Regions from separate parts of the Homo sapiens genome. Here regions 1, 2 and 3 are each linked to region 4. Evidence: promoter capture Hi-C in 16 types of primary human blood cells and fetal thymus (Javierre and others, 2016). All regions are on one chromosome and are shown on one strand. The core of a region is centred on a gene start or on the middle of the fragment in contact, and the rest is flanking DNA. Distances in the headings are between cores, read along the strand shown. Region 1 overlaps LOC105369669. Region 2 overlaps GUCY2C-AS1 (GUCY2C antisense RNA 1). Region 3 overlaps ART4 (ADP-ribosyltransferase 4 (inactive) (Dombrock blood group)). Region 4 holds the start of PDE6H (phosphodiesterase 6H).

Region 1 (6,317 bases), core at 1,097-3,596, 230 kb before region 4:
TATGGAAAAGTCTAACGTTTTATGAGCCTAGCAGCCATTTGTCTGGTTTGCTAAAGTCTCCTAACCCCAGTTTGTTTTGTACACAGATATCTGTATCACTTTTCACAAATGTAATTAGATTCAATAACAAAAACAAAATGTATTGTTTACAATATGGCCATGAATTTGCTGAATTCTGCTTATTGAAATGTCATTGCTTAAAATAAAGAAATACAGTGTGGAAGAAAGATCTGTGGGTATCTTAGAAAACGTGAATTAAAGTCCCTGCCCAAATCTGGAAGCAGAGGAATCAGGAACTTCTACAAGTGCACCACCTGGTAACGTTTTACTGAAGACTGACCTTTGCAGAGAGTTAAACATTTTGTACACCTGTAAGTGGTGATGGCCACATATCTCCCTTTCATCTCTTTTTATGGAAAAGTCTGTGGTCTTATGAGCCCAAGGTAGGGACTGTAGCACATCTTATTTGAAACCAGATTACTAGTTAAGAGGTTAAAATGAGATATCGCAAAGAATCCACACTGAGGAATCAGGGCTTATACTTTTCAAAAAGGCTATTTCTTCTAGAGAAACATTTTAACTAAGTGTAGTGCTGAACTTTCATTATTATCCACTGATTTATTTTTGTTAGAGAATGAATTCTGAATCAGTATATGTGGTTCCATGGAAAAAAGGCCAATTATTTTGCAATAATATTATATAAAATCCTCTCTGTAAGAATTAAAGAGGAAAGAAACATGAAAGGTGGCTCGACAGCCAAGGACAGGTTTATTTTAGAGAAAACAAACCTGAGAGGGGCTTCTGGCTGAGTTAGGTCAGAGCCTGCTCTCTTACAGACTAAGTAAGAGTTTTTAAGGATTCAGGGTGGGAGAGTTTATCAGAGGCTTGGACTGCTTCTGTGTCTTTATTGTGCTTATCTGGGAGGGAGAGTTTCATGACTGTTCCCATACATCTTCCTGCAGCTGCAGGCATACCCCCCAAGTCTGCTTTTAGCTTGCCTCTTAGTGCACCTGAAGGGAAAGGAATGAGCTTTTTAAGGCCCACTGTTTTACCGGGGCCCATTGTATGAGGGTGAAGTTTGGCAGAGACTTTCCCCCCACTTCCTCCTGTGCCGGAGCTGTCTTATCTTTGTTTTACTGTCTGCTCTTTCTGGCTGCTCCTTATTAGAAGGGAAGTGATTTCCTTGAAATGCATGAGGCTAGAAAGGGAGCTGGAACTTAAAATGGCAGTGGTTGTCTGAGATGACGGTTCTCCTGTTGTGTCACTCACCCTATTGTTGAAAATGGTACAAACATCCTCCTTATCCTGCCTATTATTTAATGCATCTCTCTCTTCTGCTTTTTGATATATCCCATCAATATTTTTCTCCATATGCCATCTTAGTTCAGATCTTTATCATTTCACATGGTTTCCAACATCAGCCTTTTATCTGGTTTGCTGAAGTTTCCTAACCTCAGTTTGTTTTGTACACAGCTATCTGTATCATGTTTCACAAACGTAATTAGATTCAGTAACAAAAACAAAATGTATTGTTTACAATAGAGCCATTAATATGCTGACTTCTGGTTATCAAAATGTCATTGCTTAAAGAAATAGATTGTGGAAGAAATATCTGTGGGTGAGGATCTTAGAAAATGTGAATTAAAGTCCCTGCTATATACCATATAATAAGTTTTATTTTCCTCATTTAGGCTTTAGTTTTCTCATTTGTAAAACAAAGTAGTTTAAATAGATGATCTCTGAAGCTTCTAAATCCTGATACTGAATATAGCTTGACTGGCCCATGGACATTCAGGTCTTTGCATTGAGTTTCCCATTAAATTTTCTGAGGCATTTTTTTTTCATTCAATAAAGTTTAAGGAACATGAGTCAGTAGCGGGCCCCATGTTGGACCCTGGGTGTAGAAAAATTCCCCACCCAGAGAAACAGAAGACAGCCATCCATCCACATATTTGTACTACATCAATATGTACTCAAGGCAGCAAGAGCAGCATTGTACACAGTGCAATGGAAGGGCAATGATAAAAAATAGCTTTGCCTGAGGATGCTAAATGAAGATAATAGGCAAGCCTACATGGTAGATACAAGAATAGAAAAAAAAAAAACCTGAAAAGCAAGGAGGCAGAAAAGATTCAATAAAATGTTAGGTAGACATCTGATTAAAGTGGATTATTAAATACAAACTCCTAGTTAAGTGCAGTGGATTAAATGTATATGCTTATCTTTGCTTCTCCTTATTTCTCTAAAATGATAATGCATAGATTAAAAAAATACAAACTGTAAAAGAAAAAAAAGAGAAGATAACAGCTGACCAGAGATGGCAAGAAAATTGGGAAAAATTAGAGAGAATATGGACATGAGAAAATTCACTTAGAAGACTGAATAAAGATGAAAACTATGTACTCTACAAGTTCAGGGGAGAGCCAAAAAAAGCAACTTCCACTTGCATTGAGGAACTCCAAAAGTGTCAGAAATTAAAAATGCAAGATGCCTCTGAAGGTAGTTGTGCAGATAGGGCTGAAAACAGAAGGTCTGGTTTAAAGTTGGTTTGAGAATCAGTTAGAGCCTGTGCGGCCCACCCTTACCTCAACAGAGATGGGAGGTTTATTCTCTGGAGACACTGAATCAGAGGATTCAATGTGAAGGATAGACATCTGCTATCCTTCACACTCAGGACAGCAGAAAGGTGAGGAGGCTGAACTGAAAGGGGTAGGGACTAGAAACCTACACACTGAAAAATGAGACCCCAAGCTCCAGTCCACAACTTTGGGTTTGTTTACATGTAGACTTATTATTGTACAGGCAGAGGATTCTCATGGAAAACTGACATAGCAAAAAAAAAAAAAAAAAAACCTAAGGATACTGGCAGCTAATGATTCACTTAAAAATAAGTCCCTACCTGTTACCCTACAGAGAAAGTCATTGGTCAACAGGTAGAACTTAAGTACAAAGCTTGCAATCAGCTTTCCAGTGCCGCACTATTAAATATGAATGGGAAGCTTAAATATTATCTGGCATTAGAGGGAAGCCTCCATTATAAAATACACAGAAAAAAACTATATATAAAATATACAGAAAATATACAGAAAAAGTACTCCAAAAAATTAAAAGTGTAAGAAGAATAATGAAGTATCGGGGAACCTGCCCCCTGTAGTCACGTAGGTTCTTTTCTGTTTTCCCCAAGCGTCAGCCAGGTTGAGAAATAAAGGGACAGAGTACAAAAGAGAGAAATTTTAAAGCTGGGTGTCTGGGGGAGACATCACATATCGGTAGGTTCCGTGATGCCCCCCGAGCCATGAAACCAGCAAGTTTTTATTAGTGATTTTCAAAAGGGGAGGGAGTGTACGAATAGGGTGTGGGTCACAGAGATCATGTGCTTCACAAGGTAATAGAATCTCACAAGGCAAATGGAGGCAGGGCGAGATCACAGGACCACAGGACTGGGGCGAAATTAAAATTGCTAATGAAGTTTCGGGTACCATTGTCATTGATATCATCTTATCAGGAGATAGGGTTTGAGAGCAACCAGTCTGACCAAAATTTATTAGGTGGGAATTTCCTCATCCTAATAAGCCTGGGAGCGCTATGGGAGACTGGGGCTTATTTCATCCCTACAGTTTTGACCATAGAAGACGGCCACACCCAAGGGGGCCATTTTAGAGGCCGACCCTCAGGGGTGCATTCTCTTTCTCAGGGATGTTCCTTGCTGAGAAAAAGAATTCAGCGATGATATTTCTCCCATTTGCTTTTGAAAGAAGAGAAATATGGCTGTGTTCCTCCCGGCTCACCAGTAGTCAGAGTTTAAGGTTATCTCTCTTGTTCCCTGAACATTGCTGTTATCCTGTTCTTTTTTCAAGGTGCCCAGATTTCATATTGTTCAAACACACATGCTCTAAAATTTGTGCAGTTAATGCAATCATCACAGGGTCCTGAGGCGACATACATCCTCCTCAGTTTACGAGATGACAGGATTAAGAGATTAAAGTAAAGACAGGCATAGGAAATCACAAGGGTATTGATTGGGGAAGTGATAAGTGTCCATGAAATCTTCACAATTTATGTTTAGAGATTGCAGTAAAGACAGGCGTAAGAAATTATAAAAGTATTAATTTGGGGAACTAATAAATGTCCATGAAATCTTCACAATCCACGTTCTTCTGCCATGGCTTCAGCCGGTCCCTCCGTTCAGGGTCCCTGACTTTCCGCAACAATGAAGCATTGAAAAAAGAAATCTAAGCAGCCCCAAAGATATGAGATAATATTGCAACCCTGAAACAAGAAAAACTATGTGTTTATTTAAAAAGCAATATTCAAAGAGCAAAACAACATCTCACAAAAAAATAAAAAGCCATTAAAAAATTCCATTAGGATGAAAGATAAAGCTTAAGAAACTTCCAATAGTACAGCAAAAAATGCAGAGAATGAATAAAATATAATAATAAATAATAGATTTCTATTAAGAGGGAAGAAAGGAAACAGAGAAAATTATCAAATAAATAATAAGAAATAACAGGCCTACTAAGTACCCTGCACAACAAATGAAGACCTACACCAAACAATGAAGCATTTCAAAGCGCAGCTAGAAAGATACAATTCTAAAAGCTTTTAGACGTAAAAAGTCAAATACATGGGATTAGAAATCAGAATGTCTTTAAATTTCTCAATAGCTTGATGGAAACTAGCTGATATGGTTTAGACCTTTATCCCCTCTAAATCTCATGTTGAACTGTAATCCCCAATGTTGGAGGTGGGGCCTGGTGGGAGATGTTTGGGTCGTGTGGGTGGATCCCTCATGAATAGTTTGGTGCTGTCCCTGCAGTAATCAATTCAGGTAAGATCTGGTTGTTTAAAAGGGTGTGGCACTTCCCCTGTCTCTCTTGCTCTCTCTCTCCCCCTGTGATGTGCTTGCTTCCCTTTGCCTTCTGCCATGATTGAAAGCTTCTTGAGGGCCTCACCAGAAGCAGATACCAACACTATGCTTCCTGTACAGTCTGCGAAACCATGAGGCAATGAAACGTCTTTTCTTTATAAATTACGCAGTCTCAAGTATTGCTTTATAGTGATGCATATGGACTAACACACTAGCAGACAATAGAAAAATGTTTTCAAATTCAAAGGAAAAATGATGTTTTATACTCAAAGTATCAGTCAATTGTAAGAGGAGAATAAAAATTCTTTCAGACATGCAAGTTCTGAAAGACCTAGAGACCAACCCATACAGACTGAATCAGAAGGCTTCAGAAAAAAATTAAACATTTTTCACTTCTGTAGGGGGAATTAAAGGATCAACCATGATCGATAATTTTTAACTCCAGGGAAAACAAAAATTTTTACAAGAAATTTAATCATAAAATATATGGCTCAGTTATGAATAATATTCATGTAGTTATAATAATATAAATACTTGAATACTGATTTAACCAAAAACTGAAATAGACTTGACGGATGGGGGTTGGAAAAGTTCATGAGTAGGTAGAAGGGAGGGATATGTAAGAGAGATAATTTTTCCTCCTTCGTGGTAGGAAGTTTATAGATGAAACCCAAAACTAAAAAGTTTAGATGTAGCAGTTGTTACATGTTATTTAGAAATATAGTGATAATTACCAGAAGAAAAAGCTGGTTGATATCTGGAGAGCAGAAACTGGGTGTAGGGATAGGTGCAGCATTTTTGTCATTCGTTATACACTTTGTAAAACAATTGGATTTTTAAGACTAAATACATGTTTTATTTTGATTAAAAAAATCAAGATTAAATTATAAAAAGAGGCCAGGTGCGGTGGCTCACGCCTGTAATCCTAGCACTTTGGGAGGCCGAGGCAGGTGGATCATGAGGTCAGGAGATCGAGACCATCCTGGCTAACACGGTGAAACCCCATCTCTACTAAAAATACAAAAAGTTAGCCAGGCATGGTGGCAGTCTCAGCTACTCGGGAGGCTGAGGCAGAATGGTGTGAACCCGGGAGGTGGAGCTTGCAGTGAGCTGAGACTGCGCCACTGCACTCCAGCCTGGGTGACACAGTGAGACTCGTCTCAAAAAAAAAAAAAAAAAAAGAAAGAAGCACTAAGATTAAATGGAGAATTTCTTGTGAGAGTGTGTTGAGTTCACATATTCCCACTAATCTCCAAGACTCCTAACAAAAAATAAAAAATAAACGTAAAGATAAACAACAATTTACAAAGAGCTAAAAACCAAATAGCCAGAAAATGTTGGTAATTGAAAACACGGGTCTGATGCTTTCAAAAGAGGTTTAGGTAAGAAACATAAATTCGAGCATCATCTTTAGTTAGGTGGTAAATTAATACATTAATTTGAATAA
Region 2 (6,570 bases), core at 561-3,060, 250 kb before region 4:
GTTTCACCGTTTTAGCCAGGATGGTCTCGATCTCCTGACCTCGTGATCCGCCCGCCTCGGCCTCCCAAAGTGCTGGGATTACAGGTGTGAGCCACCGCGCCCAGCCCTTCCTTGACATATTAATTCTATTTTTAAATTTTTTGATATATACCCAGTAGTAGTATTGTTAGATCATATGGTAGCTCTGTTTTTAATTTTTTGAGAAAACCTCCATACTGTTTTCCCTAATGTCTGGTACTAATTTACATTCCCACCAACAGTGTATTAAAGTTCCCCTTTTTCCACATCCTCATCAGCATCAGCATTTGTTATTTTTTTATCTCTTTGATGAAAGCCATTTTAACTGAGATGAGGTAATATATCTCATTGTGGTTTTGATTTGCATTTCCCTGATTAGTGATGCTGAGCATTTTCCATATCCCTTTGGTCATCTGTATGTCTTCTTTGGAGAAATGTCTACTCAGGCTTCTTGCCCATTTTTAAGTTGGGTTTTGGATTTTTTGGGTTGCTGTAGGGCTGTTTGAGTTCTTTGTATAATCCAGATATTAACCCCTTGTCAGATGCATAGTTTGCAGGTATTTTCTCCCACTCTATAGGCTTTCTCTTTGGTCTATTTCCTTTGCTGTGCAGAAGCTTTTTAGTTTGATGTAATTGCATTCACCTATTTTTGCTTTTGTTGCCTGTGTTTTTGAGGTCTTATCAAAAAAATTCTTGCTCCAGACAAATGCCATGAACCATTTCCCAGAGATAGATAGATAGATAGATAGATAGATAGATAGATAGACAGACAGACAGACAGATAGATAGATAGATGTTTTGAGACAGAGTCTGCCATGCTGGAGTGCAGTGACATGATCTTGGCTCACTGCAACCTCCGCCTCCTGGGTTCAAGTGATTCTCATGCCTCAGCCTCCCAAGTAGCTGGGATTACAAGCACATACCATCACACCTGACTAATGTTTGTATTTTTAGTAGAGGTGGGGTTTCACCATGTTGGCCAGGCTGGTCTCAAACTCCTGACCTCAAGTGATCCACCCACCTTGACCTCCCAGAGTGCTGGGATTACAGGCATGAGTCACTGCACCCAGCCCATTTACCCTATATTTTATTCTTGTAGTTTTGGATCTTTTGTTTAAGTCTTTTTTTTTTAAGAGATAGGAACTCACTATGTCCACTGTGTTGCCCAGGCTGGCCTTGAACTCTTGGGCTCAAGTGATCCTCCTGCCTCAGCCTCCTGAGTAACTGGGTCTATGGATGTGCACCACCACCTGGCTACGTTTAAGTCTTTAATCTATTTTGAGCTGATTTTGCAGTTGGTGAGATAAGGATCTAGTTTCATTCTTCTGCATATATATCCAGTTTTTCAAGCACCATTTATTAGACTGTCCTTTTCCCATTGTGTGTTCTTGGCACTTTTATTGAAAATTAGTTGGCTGTAAATATGTGCATTTATTTCTATGTTCTCTATTCTATTCCACTGGTCATTGTGATTCTTTTTTTTTATTCCAGTGCCATGCTGTTTTGGTTACAATAGTTTTGCAGTATATTTTGAAGTCAGCTACTGTGATGCCTCCAGCTTTCTTTTTCTTTGCTCAAGATTGCTTTGGCTATTCAGGGTCTTTTGTGGTTCCATGCAATTTTTTTTCTTACACTGCTATTTTGAATTCCTTGTCTAATAGGTCACACATCTTCTCTTTGGGATTTGTCACTAGCCCCTTATTTTGCCTGTTTAGTGAGGTCATAATTCCGATTGTACTTGGTGATTGTGGCTGCACTTCGATGTCTGCACATCGAAAAATTAGGTATTTATTTTAATCTTCACAGTCTGGCTTTAAATGTTCCCATGCTTCTTCAGTGGGCCTGTTCAGTTATCCAAGCCGACTGTTATGAAAGACTCTGACCAGTGCAGCTGTTCCGACACTAGAGGGTGCCCTAAGCCCATATTTGTTGTCAGTTTCACAAAAGTTCCATAGTTGGCATGCACTCTGGCAGAGATGGACCTGGTGAAGATCCAAGGCATGTACCCAAGTTGAGTGAGAATATTGGCCAGGGACCCAAGTCTGGAAGCCTGTCCCATAGGCCCAGACAGGCGAGGCTTCCAGGCCAGTTCCCCAACTGCAGCAGGAGAAGATGGAGCTGAGCCTGGGCCGCCTCTGTACCTGCTGTGGGATGGGGGCTGGTGGCCCAGATATGCAAGCCTCCCAGCAGTTCTCAGGAGATGCTGAAGTTGAGACTAGTTCCCCTCAGAATTCACTGTGAGATCAAGGCCAGTGAGTTCACCCCAGTAGGTCAGGTGGGTGCACATCCCACAGTCATTTCCTGCACAAATGGGACAGTTCCCAGACTGAGGAGCTGGAGTTGATTGGGCCCCCTCAGGATCTGCTTTGGGATGGAGGCTGATGTGCCCATCATGTAGGCTTACATGACTGACATGTGTAATCCCTAGACTGTGAGATATTGGTGAGTCTTTCTCTTGAGTTCTTGCACAAACAGTAATAAGCTGGGATCCCAGATGAGGAGGACTGGAGCCCAGTTACAAGGTAACTTTCAAATTCACTTCCAAGACCGTTGTCAGTGGGCAGACGAGCCTTTCTGCCAAGGTACTAATGTGCATGATTCCTCCTGGACCCCTTGGCAAATTGTTTTGGTTCAAGGATAAACAGGACTGTACCTAAGCCTTTTGGGAAACAAGGCTGTTTCTAGATTTAAATCCCAGGGGCATGATCAGCAGGTCTGCCACCTGGCTGTTGGTCTGCACTCTCAAAACAGTCTTTCTGGCTCTTGGGCTCCACCAGGGATTCATAGCTTCCTACCTTCCTACCTTCCTACCTTCCTACCTTCCTACCACAGAGACTTGTCTGTGGATGAATGCAGACAAATTTTGAGAGGATATGAGTGGGTGACTTCCTATTACACCATTTTGCTGATTTGTTTCTGTTACGTGTGTCCATGTGAAGAGACCACCAAACAGGCTTTGTGTGAGCAATAAAGCTTTTTAATCTCCTGGGTGCAGGTGGACTGAGTGAAAAAGGAGTCAGCAAAGGGAGGTAGGGGTGGGGCAGTTTTATAGGATTTGGGTAGGTAGTGGAAAATTACAGTTAATGGGGGTTTTTCTCTTGCGGGCAGGGGTGGGGGTCACAAGGTGCTCACTGGGGAGCTCCTGAGATTCATTGTCCAGGAGAAGGAATGTCACAAGGTCCATTGATCAGTTAGAGTGGGGCAGGAACAAATCACAGTGGTGGTGTGTCATCAGTTAAGGCAGGAACTGACTATTTTCACTTCTTTTGTGGTTCTTCAGTTGCTTCAGGTCATCTGGATGTATATGTGCAGGTCACAGGTGATATGATGGCTTAGCTTGGGCTCAGAGGCCTGACAGTCTCTAGATTTTATTTATCACTGTTTTGTAATTTTTAGCATTAAAATAATATACATATTTTCTTAGATGTATACCTAAGTATTTCATTTTTTGAGTGATTATAAATGATATTGTATTTTAAATTTTGATGTTCATATATTTATTGCTGGTATACAGAAATAGAATTAATTTTTATATGTTGATCTTGGGTCAGTGACCATGCTGAACTCCCTTATTAGTTCCAAGACCCTTTTCATAGATGCTTTAAAATTTTCTACACAAACGATCATGTAATCTGTAAGTAAGGACAGTTTAATATCGTTTTCACTGAGATATATGCCTTTCATTTTTCTTCTTCCCTTATTCAGTGGCTGTAATGTCCAGGACTATGTTGACTAACATAGTCAACTGGTGAGAGCAGACATTATTTTCAATCTTGGGGTCCACAAGATTCAGTCTTTCACCATTAAATATCATGTTTGCTGTAGTTTCTTTGTAGATGATATTTGTCAAGTTAAAAAATTTCCCCCATCTTTCTCATTTTATGAGAATTTTTATCATTAATGAATTGTGAATATTAACAAATGCTTTTTCTGCATCAGTTGATAATATTGTGTAATTTTCTGTTGATGTGATAAATGATATTAATTGATTTTTCAATATTGAACCATCCTTGTATCCTGAAATAAACCCCACTTGGTAGTTGTTTATCATTCTTTTTATATATTGCTAAATTCTACTTGCTAGTATTTTATTAAAGATTTTTTATCTGTGTTCATGAAATATTGGTCTGTAGTTAATATCTTTTCCTCATTCTTTCTTTTTTATTTCTCTCTTTCTTGTGCTGTTTTTGTCTTGTATGGATATCAAGATAATTCTAGATTTATAAAATTAATTGAGAAAAAATTTTCTCCCTTTCTGTTTTCTGGAAGAGATTGTGTAGAGTTGGCATTAATTCTTCTTTAATGTTTGGTAGAATTCTTGAATGAAACCATCTAAGCCTGAAGAGATTTCTTCTTGGAGAGTTTTAAAAAATTCGAAGTCAATTTTCTTAATACTTATCAGTCTATCAGCATATATTTCATTTTGGTGAGTTCTGGTAGTTTGTGTTCTATTTTATCTAAGATAATTTTGATATCTAAGATAATTCTATCTTTGATAAAATAGAATAAAATAAAAATTCATCTATTTTATCTAAGTTGCCAAATTTATGTGTATGGATTGGTTTCCTTATTATGCTTTTAATGTGTGTAGGGTCTGAAGCACTATCTCCTATTTTATTCTTGATGTTGGTAATTTGTGTCTTTTCTCTTTTTTAAAACAACTTTTCAAGAGGTTTGTCAATTTTATTGACCTTTTCAAAGAATGATTTTCACATTGATTTTTCTGTATTGCCTGTTTTCATTTATTTCTGCTCTTATCCTTATTATTTTCTTTTTTAAAAATTATACATTTTATTTATTTATTGTTATTTTTTGAGACAGGGTCTTGCTCTGTTGCCCAGGCTGGAGTACAGTGGTAGAATCATGGCTCATTGCAACCTTGAACCCTTAGGCTCAAGCAGTCCTCCCACCTCAGCCTCCCAAGTAGCTGGGACTACAGGCATGCACCACCCTTCCCAGCTAATTTTTTGTACTTTTTTGTAGAGGTAGGGTCTTGCTATGTTACCTGGACGGGTCTTGATCTTCTGGTCTCAAGTGATCTTCCCACCTTGGCCCCCCAAACAACTGAGATTACAGGTGTGGGCCACTGCTCCCAGCCCATCCTTATTATTTTCTTCCATCTGCTAGCTTTGGGTTTACTTTGCTGTTTCTTTTCTGTGTTTCTGAGAAGACAGCTTAGATTAATACTTTGAGATTCCTCTTTTCTAATGTATGTAATTTAGTGGTATAAAGTTCCTTTTTAGCAATGCTTTGGTTTTAGCCTACAAATTTGGCATGTTGTGTGTTCATTCAATTAAATGCATTTTTATTGCCCTTGAAACTTTTTCTTTGAAAGAGAACAATATAAAATGTGTTGTTTGGTCTCCAAGTGTTTGGAGGTTTTCCTGTTATCTTTCTGTTATTGATTGTTAGTTTAATTCCTCAGTGGTTAGAGAACACATTCTGTATGATTTAAATTAAAAAAAAAACATTTTTAGGTTTGTTTTATGGCCTGGGATATGATCTATCTTATTACATATTCCTTGAGCACTTGCAAAGAATATGTTTTCTGCTGTTGTTGGATGGAGTGTTCTATAAACGTTGATAAAATCCTGTTGGTTGATGGTGTTGAATTCATCTATCACCTTGCCGATTTTCTGTCTAGTTCTATCAATTATTGAAGGAGAGGTATTGACATTTCCAATTACAACTGCGGATTTGTCAATTTTTTATTTTATTTCTATTTGTCTTTGCTGCACATATTTTTCAACTCTGCTATTTGGTACATACACATTTAGGATAGATATGTCTCCTTGGTTGATTGACCTTTATCATTACATAGTGTCCCTCTTTGTCTCTGGGGTTTTTTTTTATGTTCTGAAGTCCACTTTGTCTGATATTAATACAGTCACTGATGCTTCTTTTTTTAAGTGAAACATGGTGGCTCTTTATTGAAATTTTCATGTGAGGACAGAAACTAATATAATACATTTAATTAACTTGGAATATTTGTGTGAAGATATAAACTAATACCTTCAAATATCCTAGAATCTATCATTTCTAAGCCAGATTATGCTCTTCTATCATTTTCATTCTTTAGCATATGACACAAGTGGGAAATATGTCAAGGGGATGTATGGTGTGTGGTATTAAGGAATGCTATTCTTGATGGCTCGCTATTGTATGGTTTCCAAAACTGTGCTGAAATAATTTTACATTTGGTTGCCTTACTTATTCTCAAGCATTTACAATAAATACGCATGTGAGAAAGAACACAGATACACTTATATCAACCAGTAAGATTGTTCATTAATTATCAAATACAGTGTATGTTAAAAGCCTGTAGGGTTTAGGTTGCTATGTTAGTGATTGGCAAATAATACTTTTACTAGATGTAGAGTTTTTACTGGAAAAGGCAGATACTTTATTTTATTATTATTATTATTATTATTATTATTATTTTTGAGACAGAGTCTTGTTCTGTCGCCCAGGCTGGAGTGTAGTGGTGTGATCTCGGCTCACTGCAATCTCTGCCTCCAGGGTTAAAGCGATTCTCCTGCCTCAGCCTCCTGA
Region 3 (5,897 bases), core at 2,339-4,838, 140 kb before region 4:
CCACCAAACTGCCAAAGACCCTATCCTATGCAAGTCACATAAATTGTCTGTTTGTAGAAATTCTTTCTTTTTTTCTTTTTTTGAGATCGAGTCTCACTCTGTTGCCCAGGCTGGAGTGCAGTGGTGTGAACTTGGCTCACTGCACTACCTCCGCCTCCTGGGTTTAGGCAATTTTCCTGCCTCAGCCTCCCAAGTAGCTGGGATTACAGGTGCGTGCCACCATGCCTGGCTAATTTTTGTATTTGTAGTAGAGACGGGGTTTCACCATGCTGGCCAGGCTGGTCTTGAACTCCTGACCTCGTGATCCGTCCTCCTCGGCCTCCCAAAGTGCTGGGATTACAGGGGTGAGCCACCATGCCTGGCAGAAATTCTTTCCTTTATTGACTGTAGAGGCTACTGCAACTAGGTGACAGAGGTGATTTGGCCCTGTTAGTTTCAAATCCCAATTTAAAGAATGATAGTACAGAGATGCCTGAACTCCCTGCCAGGTAATTTTATGTAGCTTATTCCCCATTCCATTTCTTTGATCATGACACAGGCCATTCAGGAAGTCCTATGGAGAGTAAATAGATGGACCGATTTTCAGTTTTGCTGTTTCTTATCCAAATCTTAAAAGGGATAAGGAGCATGGACTTTCAAAATCCAAAATTATAGAGCTAGCCCTCATCTTTACTCCATTTAGCCTGATACCAGGGTCTTCAGTGATCGTGATCGGGTTAAATAATCCCTTATGTCGCTACCTAAATTACTACCTGAGGGAAGCGTTAGAGGACATTTCCAGCTATACAATTCAACAATTTATACTTCTTTGCATGTACTAGTTTACATGTAATGAGACCTCGCTATATTGCTGATATTTGTTTGTAATCAGTGTTTTTTTCTCTCATACTCTCTGTTAACCTTCACACATACCCTCATGTTTTCCTAATATTTAAATTTGCTATGAAGACTTAAATTTGCCATCAAGTTCTCTATGAATTAACATATGAGTTTAAATTTTAACTTTTGTAATGTCTTAGGAACATGCATGAACACCCATTACTGCTGGTGAATGAAATTTCACTAACATCTTTCATTAACTTTCCCTTTTATTTCTCAAGTTTCCATGTGTCTTCTCATCTGAGGCCATACTAGCTTAATCTTGAATGCTCATAAAAAATCTCTGAAGAAAATTCACACCTTGGTTAATCTCTGGGGTTCAAAGCTTTTCTGTTTGGTGAAGAATTTGTCCTTTGCTTTCTAATTTAATCTTCTTTGATTTGTTCCTATTTAGAATAACTAAATTAAAAAAAATAAGGAAGAGTGCTTGTATTCGTTGGAACTTCAACTGCTTGATGCTTGACATAGAAAATCTAATTCAAATTATGCAAGCAAAAACATAAATTATTGATTTATGTAATGAAAAATCTTGTAGTATTCAGCTTTAGGCAAAGTTGGATCCAGAGGCTTATACATTCTCATCAGGTCTCAGTTTCTTTTCACTTATCAGCTCTTCCTTTGTTGTGTTAGATCCTTTCTCAAGGAGATGGGGTCTCCTCTCCTGGTGGCGGGATCTTTGCTGGCAGCTATAAGCTCCTACCCTGCTTTCATTAATATCCATTCAGAAAAGAAGCTCCCATTCTATTTCCAATTGCAATTCCACAAAAGTACCCTGATTGTATCTCACAGGCTCTGATTGGATCATTTTCTATTCCAGCATGAATCTTTGTGTCCATGAAGAAGAAATATACTGATTGGCTAAGGCCTGAGTTACAGGCCAATCACAGTCAGTGGGCTGAGCCAGCTCTGCATCAGTTGCTAGCTGGGCAGAGTGATTTCCCCAAGAGTACTTAGGGTGCCCAGATTGAAATAAGGCAAAGGGGTACAAGGAAAGGCATAAGAGAATTAGCAAAGAGGAGGCCATGCACTGGTTTCAGCAGAAGTATGATGGGATCATCCTTCCTGGAAAATAAATGTCCATTTCTAGCCAAAAGGCCAATAAAAAAGATTTTATTTAAATATTTTTTTTAAATAAAAGGAGCCACAAGATTTCTTTATACTCTGCTTTTGGAAAAGATGATGACACTGGTCAAAAAGGAGAGAGATGCAATAGCTATAGGATCAGGGATGCATTTCTTGCTGGAAGCTGTAAAAAACAAAACAAAGGAAATATTTTAGGTAGCAGAGTTTTTTTTAAAACTACCTCATCTATCCATTGATCCACTTACTTAACTTAGAAAATTCCTAATAAAAACATTTGAAGTTAGCTACTTAAAACACATTATTTTAGATTTTTCTAACATAACTTGCTTATTTTGCAGATGATGAAACAGACACCAAGAGGTTAAAAGATGTACTCCCAGGTAACCCAGCCAGCTGGTGGTAGAGATCTAATTTTCCATCTTTATCATCACCAGCAGCATAATCACTGTTAGCATTATCCCCATCTTAATTATCATCATCTTCATCACCATTATGAAAGTTAACACAGACTGAATGCTGATTTTGTGCTAGGATCTATTTCGAGCCCTTGCTATATATTAACTTAAGCCTCACAACAAACCTATGAGATTTTTATTCTCAATATCCTTGGTTTTTACTTGATGAGATTGTGACACAGAGATGAGAAAAAACTTGCCAGTGTCACACATCTTGTAAATAGTATAGGCACCATTCAAACTTGGCCAGTTTGTCTCAATTCTGCATTCTTAACCACTAACCTGTTTGTCTGTGTATTACATGTCCATCCATAGAATTTTTCATTACAAGGTGAGCAAGAAATATTCACACAATCCTGTTTGGAGTGTGTGTGTGTGTGTGTGTGTGTGTGTGTGTGTGTTCTAACTACACATATACACCTTTCACAGGAAATGTGGGACAGGTTAGCAGCCAGTTAGGTGTGGAAGCAAAACTGGAAAATAAAAAAAAATATTGTCAGATATAACTAATAATTGGCCATATAATGGGGTGGGGACTGAAATGAGATGGGAGATGGAAACCCTGTAAAAAATAGTCTAAATAAAGACTGGAATCTCTTTGCAGCCAGTTTTCACTATTGTTTAAGGTAGAAAAGATGTTTCTGGGAGGAAGAGATTCAACTCTAATTGCCTCAATATTTGCTCATATTGTTTGATAGGATAACCAGATGAGGGAGAAATACATTTCTACTATTTTCACACAATATATACATTTTTTAGTTTTTTGGAATTTCTATATAGGAGTGTGTGTGTGTGTGTGTGTGTGTGTGTGTGTGTGTGTGTGTATACAAGTAGAAATTCCAAGACAGAAAAGACAGAAATTACTCTGTGTGTGTATGTGTGTACTGTATGTATGTATATATATATATATATATATATATATATATATATATATATATATATATACAGTAATTTCTGTCTTATTTTTTTGAGTTGGAGTTCTCACTCTGTCACCAAGCTGGAGTAGATACAGTAATTTTCAAGACCTCAATTTTCACCAATAAGAGTTGGCAAGGAAAATTAAGAGCATATGTCTTTCTAAACTTTTGTCAAAGTTTGTGTTAAAATCAAATTATATGAATCCCTACAGAGACTTAGGAAGCCTTAATACCACTTTAGCAGGTCAATCATTAGAATGGTTCTCAAACGATTTTTGTTTTTTTTTCCTCTTCACTGAGGCTAAAGATCACAAGGATTTCCAGTCCCACCCTTTCCCAGTATTTAGAGAGCTTAAGGGTCTCTGTTAGGCCACACAGTAAGTGACAGAGCCAGTATTTAACCTAGAGAGTCTGATTTAAGAGATTATATGTTGAGCTTCCTGGAATGTAATGTCAATTCTCAGTCCTCACTGTATTTGACCTATCAACCATATTTATGGTAGTGAATCACTCCATCCTCCTTGATACTTACTCTTCATTTTGCTCTTAGGACACCAACTCTATCAATTTTCTCCTCCCTCACTGGCCATTCCTTCTCCATTTTTTTTTTTTTTTTTGAGATGGGTCTTGCTCTGTCACCCAGGCTAGAGTACAGCAGTGTGATCTCTGCTCACTGCAACATCAGCTCAAGTGATTCTTCCACCTCAGCCTCCCAAGTAGCTGGGTCTACAGGTGCACACCACCATGCCTGGCTATTTTTTTTTTGTATTTTTGGTAGAGACGGGGTTTTACCACATTGCCCAGGCTGGTCTCGAACTCCTGAGCTCAAGCAGTCCACCTACCTCGGCCTCCCAGAGTGCTGGGATTATAGGTGTGAGCCATCACACCTGGCCTCTCCATCTTCTTTGTACTTGACCTTTTAAAATGGGAGTGTCCTGAGGTTTGATCCTTGGACATTTTCTCTCCTTTATTTATACACCTTTGTGGGGAGCTCATCCAGTCTCTTGGCTTTAAATACCACCCATAACCCACTGACCTCAAATTTATCTTTCCATCCTGGGTCACTCGGAATTCTACACTTGTGCATCAACTGTCCACTCAACATCTCTGCTTGGGTTACTATTGCACAGCTCAGATATAACATGTCAAATACCAAACTCCTGCTCTTAAATCTACTCCATCCCCAGGCTTCTCCATCTCAGTGAGTGCCACCTCCATCCTTTCAGTTACTCTAGCCAAACCTTGGAGTCATTCTTCACTCTTCTTTTTCCCTCACTTTTCACTTCCAGTGTGTCAGGACCTCCTTTTGGCTCTGAATCTGGTCAAACCTTACTGCCTCCACTCTACCACCTTCATCTCTCAACTGAATGATTGAAATAGCCCCCTACTTGGTTTCTCTGCTTACCTCATTACAGTTTATCCTCTACTGGGCTGCTAGGTCAGTTTTGACACAATCTTCTATGTTTTCTGCCCAAAACCTCTCAGTGGTATCCTATCTAAGAGGAAAAGCCAAAGTCCTTACAACTGCCTTCAAGGTCCTATGTGATCGAATCTACATCATCTTCTGTCTTCGCTTTCTATTATTTTTCTCTCATTCCCGTACACTGGCATCCTTGCTGTTGCTTCTTACTTGAGACATTTGCACTTGCTGTGCTTTCTTCCTGGAATGCTCTTTCCTCAGATATACATGGGACTGGCTCTCTCATCTCCTTTCAACCTTGGCTCAAATGTCACCCTCTCAGTGAAGTTTCCCCTGATCACCCAGTTTAATATTGCCACTCCTTCCCATAGTGTTCACTGTCTCCTTACTCTGCTTTATTTTTCATCTTAGTATGTACCACCTACTAACTACGACATAATTTACTTATTTATTTTGTTTATTTCTGCCTCACATCAATAGAATGTAAATCCCCAAGGGCAGGGATTTTCACCTATTTCCTTCCCTGCACCTAGGATAGTGCCTAGCAAATAACAAGTGACCAATAAATACTGATTTGTTGAATGAATGAATAATAGCTGCTATTATGATGATACCCAAATAAGAGACAAACACATAGACACTACTGTCTTGCAATCATAGTCATTCTTCAAAAAAATTCATAAGTCCTCTTTATAATAATTAGGATGTTAAAAATAGCTTCCTTTTGATTTTATTATGTCAGGTTAAAGTAACTAACTCTGTTGATACTTTTTCTCTACCTCTTTTATGGCCATTATCATTTCTACCTGGCATTATTATTATTATTGTTGTTACATGGACCATATATTTAGGAAAATAAATGAAAGACAGCTGTGCATTAATTACAAACTAAAGTTTTATTTGAGGATACCTCACATTTTTTTTACTTTTGTAGTTGTCTTTAGTTTTCTATTCAACTATCTCTTCAAAGTTTTTAATTTTCTCTTTACCTTTTTACAGGATTTTTAAAATTGGAGAATGTGATCAATTGATGGGTTGTGACATCAGCTTAGGAGGTCATAGCCATCATTGTTTAATAATGTAATAAAATAAGTTAGAATAGAAACACTAGCATTAACACTGCCTATGAAAAGGGTAACTGTT
Region 4 (6,358 bases), core at 2,079-4,578:
TTTCTTTTCAGATAGACTAAAATTCTTTCTTTTATCATTTATTTTTTGTTTCAAAAAGTTTCCTTAGCCATCTTTTTAGAGTAGGTCTTCTGATTATAGATTCTCTTAGTCTTCCTTTGTTTGAGGATGTCATTATTTCCCCTTATTCCGAAGAAGGATAAATTCACATGACATAGAAGTGAGGGTTGACAGTTCTTTTTCTCAGGACATGAAAAATGTGCCATATCCTTCTAGTCCCCCTGGTTTCTAATGGGAAATCTGCTGTCAGTTGAGTTATTTTTCTTACAGATAAGGTGTTGCTTCTCTTTCACTGCTTTCTACTTTTTTTCTTTGTCTTTAGTTTTCTGAAGTTTAGCCATGGTGTATTTTGGTGTAGATTTCTTTGAGTTTATCCCACTGGGTTTTCCCACCTTCTTGATGTTACACAATTACGTCCTGCACTACATTTGGAACATTTTTAGCCATTATTTCTTCAAGTACTTTTTAAGCTTCATCTCTTTTCTCCTTTCCTTCTGAGATGCTGATGACATAAATATTAGGTCCTTTAGTCTCACAGATCTGTAAGGTTCTATTCATTTTTTTTGTGGGGGGGTGGGTTTATTTTCTGTCTTTTGTTCAGATTGGGTAATTTCTATTTTTCTGTCTTCAAGTTCACTGATTCTTTCTTCTTTATTCTCCATTCTGTTTTTGAGCCTATCCATTAAGTTTTTTATGTTGGTTATTCTATTTTTCAGTTCTAAAATCTTTATTTCATGCTTTTTTACATGCTGTGTTATTTCTGAATGGAGATGAAATTTCCCACTTGGGCTTCTTTGATACCGCTCTGGTAGGGAGAAGAAGGTGGCCTCGTTATGACTGGTTGGAGGTGAAAGTCCAAGATCCCAATGTGGCTTTCTCTGATGCTACTCAGCTAGGGTGGGAGAAAGAAGGTCACCCCGTTGTAGCTGAATCAAGATGAAAGTCTTGGCTCTCCACTCAGACTTTGCTGAGTCATGTCATGTTTTTTTTCCATGGTATTTGACTGGAGTAGGGCGGTTTTTGTTTAAATGTTTTTGTTCTTGCTAGTTTGCTACTCTCTTGGTCACTTGTCTAGAAAAAACAGGCTTTTGGGGAGGTTTTTTGTTTTTTCACTCCTCTTGGTGTTTTTGGGTTACTGTCTTTTCCTGCATCAACATCCGGATATACAAAAAGAAAATTCAGGAAACTTCCTGCCATATTGTTCCTCGCATCTAAAGCCTGTCTTTGGTTTTTCTTCTCTCAAATATTTTGAAATATTCCATATTTCTGTCATATATAGTATCCAGGATTTTTAGCTGTACTTAGCAAGAGGCATGAGAGGAAATGTGTCTACTTTACTTGGTCCAAAACAAGAAGGAACATAGATTTTTAAGACTGTAGAGTAATTTAAGAATTTTCTAATTCTAAACCCCTGAGAACCATATTAGAGTGGCTTTAGGAGAATTTTTCAAACTATACACCTAGACTTTCTCCACACTCCTAATCTCTCCCTCTTCTCTCTCCTGGATTTCCTTTGGAGGAAGAAGACTTATGGCACAACCACCCCCATATTCAAAAATTGAGAATCTGAGAATTGCAAGATTATCTTTCTCAAGTGTACTGGGATGGAAAAAAATTGAGAACCCCAACACTCTAAATCATTCATTTTACATATGAGGAAACTGAGACTCAGAGAGGTGACATATAGCAGATAAGTGGTAAACCCAAGCTTGCATATGGGTCTAGAACAGTACTTTTCAAACATTAATATGCAAACACATCACCTTGGACCTTGTTAAAAAGCAGATTCTGATTCGGTAAGTATGGAGCAGGGCTGAAATCCTGCATTTTTAACAAGTGCACAGATGGTGTTGCTGCTGCTGCACTTTGAGTAACAACATTCTAGAACATTCACTCAGCTTTTGGCACTTTCCACTGTCCTTAAAATTTGTATTCTTTCATCAAGAAAATGGAGAATATGTAAAAGTTTGACAGATAAGCATCTGAACATTAACGTGCCTGGTATGTAATAGTAAAGGAAGATGTGAATGGTAATGGAGATACAGAGGAGGGAGCAGAGGGACTCATCCAGAGACCAAACACTTTCCTGGCTTTGCAAGGTAATCATTGCTTTCAAAACTCAGAGGAATTTTGGTAAAGACCAGTGGAGAGCATATGAATGACTCTCAAGCTGTCTAGTTGCTCATGTAATCTGCTTAGGGCTGCAGGTTAAGAACCTCTCCCTGTCTAGAAAGGATAAATTGACCTTCTTTCTCTGTAATGTTATGGAGTGTAATTTTCTAATAGGTAACAACTGGGGAAAGAACATTGAAATTCACTGGCAAGGCATGGAAGTGACCAGCAAACAGACATCTTGGTCTCTGTCTGCTTTGATGTAGTGCAGCACAAAGACAATTGAATATGCAAGGTACTTCCAGATTTGGGCCCTGTTCCTGGCTCCACTATTAATTTTATTTGCAGTCTTGAATAGGTCACTTAATCTTTCTATGATAAATTTATCAAAAGAGCTTACTGATAACTACCATATGGGTTGAGATCTATTTAAAATACAAAAAGTATTAATCTATTAATAATTAATACTAGTGGATCAATAAAATAGGAAGACTGAGTCAAGGAGTCTCAGTAAATTGGATTGTACCCTAGACCCTACACCCTGAAACATTTAGGTACGGAAGATCCAGCAATCGATTCTCAAATAAGTGTCCTCAGTTAACAATTCCTAGCTGTCATTTGGGCCCTTTCTGTGTCAGATATCAGTTTTGACTCTGAGGTTCCATCTCTCTGAGGAAATTCGCACAATACCAGTTAGGGAGACATACTGTGTGTTTCCCAATGTCACTGCCCGCATGTTCAATGTCCCTGTATAGCAGGAGGCACTGTGGCTCCCTCTCTTCTCTCCAGTTATCTAGAGCCCCATAAGAATTATGTCACTGTGTATATGTGTGTGTGTGATTGCGCACATAGGTGTGTGTTTGTCAGAGAAAGGGAAGAAATGGGGGTATTGAAATCTAAAGGTAAGAATAAAAAAAAGACAGAAGATATTGAATCACAAACTGAAATTTACCCTTGGATATCAACACTTTTTGTGTTTTTGTGAATACAATACCTATTTATTGACTGGAATGAACCCAAGTCAGTTTTGAAAGGGCCTCTAATTATTGGAAAACTCCTAAGCCTGTCCCAGCATCAACCCATGTTCTCCTAACTTCTTTGCACCTGGGTTGCTGTTCTGAGCTTATGACGGTGAGATTAGGCAGCATGAGGGTATTACAGAGAGATAAGTCAGGATGCAAAGATCCTTTTGTCTTTTGCAAAGAAGGCAGCTGGGCAGCTGATAGGAACAACATTCAGCTCCGTGAGTACTTCTGAACTTCTGGTGAATTTGAGCAGGATAATTGAAGGGCTTTGGGGGGTTGATCAGGTTCCAAAAGAAAAATTGCAGAAGAAAACATGTTGGACCTGTGGGCCTGGGCTGTGGCTGGGGATGAAAATGGGAAAGAACATGAAGGAGATACATGCAGACCTTCTTGTTATGCCATGGGACAAGCAAATAAGTGAAACTTGATTATTACAAGGTCACTGCAAAACTTGATTACTGAATTCATTTAGAAGGAGCCCAATAGTGACCTCCCTGTTTGCAGCTTCATAGTAAACAGTTTTCTGAAGAAGGAGGAATCTGTGGCACTAAATAACCACAGAGAAAACAGTTCTTTACTCCCAGGATGTGCCTGCAAACTTGGCCCAGGATGGTGTGAGTGTGAGGAAAAGGAGAAGGGGAGCTGAGAGCATGAGAATGACCACAGGGCAGGGCAGGTGGCTGAGCCTTCTCCCTTTGAGGTCAAGTGTTTGTTCCATTCTGAAGCAGGGTGCTGGCTGGAATTTTGGTAATTTTTTTTTTATGGCTTTGGTTTGGGTCTTGCTTTGCTTTTCAAATTATTGATTTTCTCTGCCTCAGCAGGACCCTGGGTGATATTTATGGGCTCAACCCCAGCAGTACTTCCCTTCCCAGCTCCTTCCTGCCTCTTTCTTTGTCCACCAACAATGGACTGGTCTACCTGTCTATAGCTTTGCTGAGAAAAAGAGAACTGGAAGTGTAAGGTGATAACAGCAGCATCAGAGAGCTGTCTCAGGAACCTCCTAAAACTGCTTTTCAGAGGATCATCCTCTGTCACTATATAGAGCTGGGCTTTGCTGTATAAAGAAACAGAAGATGATTTTTTGCTTTATACAAATCTTTAACTTTGTTAAGTTGACCCTAATCCCAGTCCCCTAAAAAAGTATGCCTTGAAATATTACTTTGCTGCATCCACTTATTTCTGCAGAAAAACAGTTTGTAATCTTCAAAAGGGGAAGGGCTAACATTGCTTTAAATACAGGAAAATGTTCTGGCTCACAAAAGAATAAATTGCCTAATGCTTTTGGAGGAAAAAATATGAAACTTCTTTCAGCTAAAATCAAGTCTGATAATACATTTAAGGTTACTCAGCTCCAGATGCCCTTAGAATTTCTAGAAAGGTGTGGTCAGCATGAGGTTAGCCTTTGGTGATGTTTATGGACAACAGGACTGGCTTCCAATGCAGGAAAAGGTCAGAGGTGTTCTACCCTTCCTAAAGGTTTTGCAGAGAGAATTGGAGGGTAAATCTATGACAGAAACTGCATAGGGATTAGTCGACTGTTCCGGTTACCTAGTGCAAATCCTGAGCACCATTAGGATCAAGGGATTAACCTGGCAACTGTTATGTAACTCTTTCTGAGGAGGCTTCTTTCATATAATGCATCATACTCAGACATGAACACTTTCTAAGCCTAGAGGTGTAACTTCAAAATTATGTAAAAATGCAAAAGAAACTTGCAAGAAAAAAGGGGATGTATCATTGGGGAATATGGATGTCACGTGTGATTTTTAAATTCTTCGGGGTTGCTGTTGGGGTGTCAAAGGAATTCAAGGAAAGCTTCTTAAGACAGAATTTTAAGACCAGAAATAAGTTAACAGTCGGGGTGTTTGAAGGAAGCAGAGAATTACCCAGCGAGGGCAGATGATAATTGCCCCTCTGGTGTATGGCAAGGGCCCTTCAGCAGTTGGCCCAGAGGAAGGAGGTGCAGAGTCCAGGTGAACAAGTGTCATAACCACAGATTTGTTTGCATGGCTTTCTTTTCTCTCAGAAGGTCTAGCATATATTTGCCCTTTTTGAACACTTTGTACCACTCTACTTATATTGTCTTCCTAAAATTTCCCCATAACTCTAAAAGGAAGGTCTTGTTTGATTCATTTTATAGATGGAATAAGACCCACAGAGGATTATGAAATTTATCCTAAGTCACGTAGCCAGTTCTGTGGAGTAGGAACTTAAAACTATATCAGTTTGATTCTAAAGAGTGTACTCTCTACCGTGTTACCATCAAAGGACAATTTGACAAATGAGGGTCACTTTAGGCCCTTACATTATAGAACTCTGGATCCAACTCAATTGGATCTTATTAGGGCTGCCAGATAAAAATGAAGGATGCCAGTTCAATTTGAATTCCAGAAAAAAAATGACTTTTTAAAGTATAAATATGTACCATGAAACAGCTGAGATATACTTTACTAAAAAAAATTATTTCTTTGTAATTCAAATTGAACTGGGTGTCTTGTAATTTTTTTTTTTTTGGCTTAATCTGGCAATTCTAACCCTAATAGATTCTTTAGATGAGAGAAAAGAAACTTTTTGATTTCTTCTACCTTGAAAATCCTGGGCAGTTCAAAAACCTTGATCTGAGAGCAATTCTCTAGCTGCCCTCTGTGACTCTGGCAGGGCTGGGATGTGTCAGTTACTGGTGGTCCACTCTGAGCACAGCGCAGATCTTGGCTGCTCACCAGCTATTCCCAGGGTCCCAACCACACTTGGGACAGACACAAGGTTTGCCTGTCTACCGGGGGTAGAGAGGGCCCACAGAACGGGAACTGAATTTAGTGAGCAGAGGAACTGGCAGTGCATTTCCTAAAGCCTGAAAGCTAATGACTTCTCTGTGCTCTGATGGAGAAGTCAAAGGGTCAGGATCTCATGACCAAGGTTTACAGTATTTGTTCAATTTCTTTTGTTTTTTTTTTTTGTTTTTTTTTTTTGGAGACGGGGTCTTGCCCTGTCGCCCAGGCTGGAGTGCAGTGGCACAATCTCAGCTCACTGCAAACTCCACCTCCTGGGTTCACACCATTCTCCTGCCTCAGCCTCCCAAGTAGCTGGGACTACAGGTGCCCGCCACCACACCTGGCTAATCTTTTGTATTTTTAGTAGAGATGGGGTTTCACCGTGTTAGCCAGGATGGTCTTGATCTCCTGACCTCGTGATCCGCCCGCCTC

What was found. The method cuts DNA at HindIII sites, captures the fragments that hold promoters and counts their contacts. A CHiCAGO score of 5 or more calls a contact.
Region 1: a contact is called between a fragment that was not itself captured here and the fragment with the promoter of PDE6H in region 4, in 1 of 17 cell types (total CD8 T cells). The highest score is 6.1, in total CD8 T cells.
Region 2: a fragment that was not itself captured here is called in contact with the fragment with the promoter of PDE6H in region 4 in 1 of 17 cell types (total CD8 T cells); the score reaches 6.3 in total CD8 T cells.
Region 3: a contact is called between a fragment that was not itself captured here and the fragment with the promoter of PDE6H in region 4, in 2 of 17 cell types (total CD8 T cells and neutrophils). The highest score is 6.1, in total CD8 T cells.

Annotation. Positions count from the first base shown.
Region 1 is chr12:14,742,513-14,748,829 of GRCh38, forward strand. All of the region lies in intron 2 of LOC105369669, which reads right to left. Among named protein-coding and RNA genes, the nearest start is that of H4C16, 25 kb to the right of the region's middle. The HindIII fragment of the contact is 1,207 bases long and covers 1,744-2,950 here.
Region 2 is chr12:14,721,956-14,728,525 of GRCh38, forward strand. The region is part of intron 5 of GUCY2C-AS1 (GUCY2C antisense RNA 1); the gene reads left to right. Among named protein-coding and RNA genes, the nearest start is that of GUCY2C, 29 kb to the left of the region's middle. RefSeq lists an enhancer at 2,006-2,195. The HindIII fragment of the contact is 2,358 bases long and covers 632-2,989 here.
Region 3 is chr12:14,827,338-14,833,234 of GRCh38, forward strand. It overlaps ART4 (ADP-ribosyltransferase 4 (inactive) (Dombrock blood group)), which reads right to left. Exons shown (of 3, transcript NM_021071.4): 3 at 1-2,125. The coding sequence ends at 2,034. Among named protein-coding and RNA genes, the nearest start is that of ART4, 13 kb to the right of the region's middle. The HindIII fragment of the contact is 4,773 bases long and covers 1,203-5,897 here.
Region 4 is chr12:14,969,714-14,976,071 of GRCh38, forward strand. It overlaps PDE6H (phosphodiesterase 6H), which reads left to right and starts at 3,329. Exons shown (of 4, transcript NM_006205.3): 1 at 3,329-3,373. The HindIII fragment of the contact is 3,244 bases long and covers 1,725-4,968 here.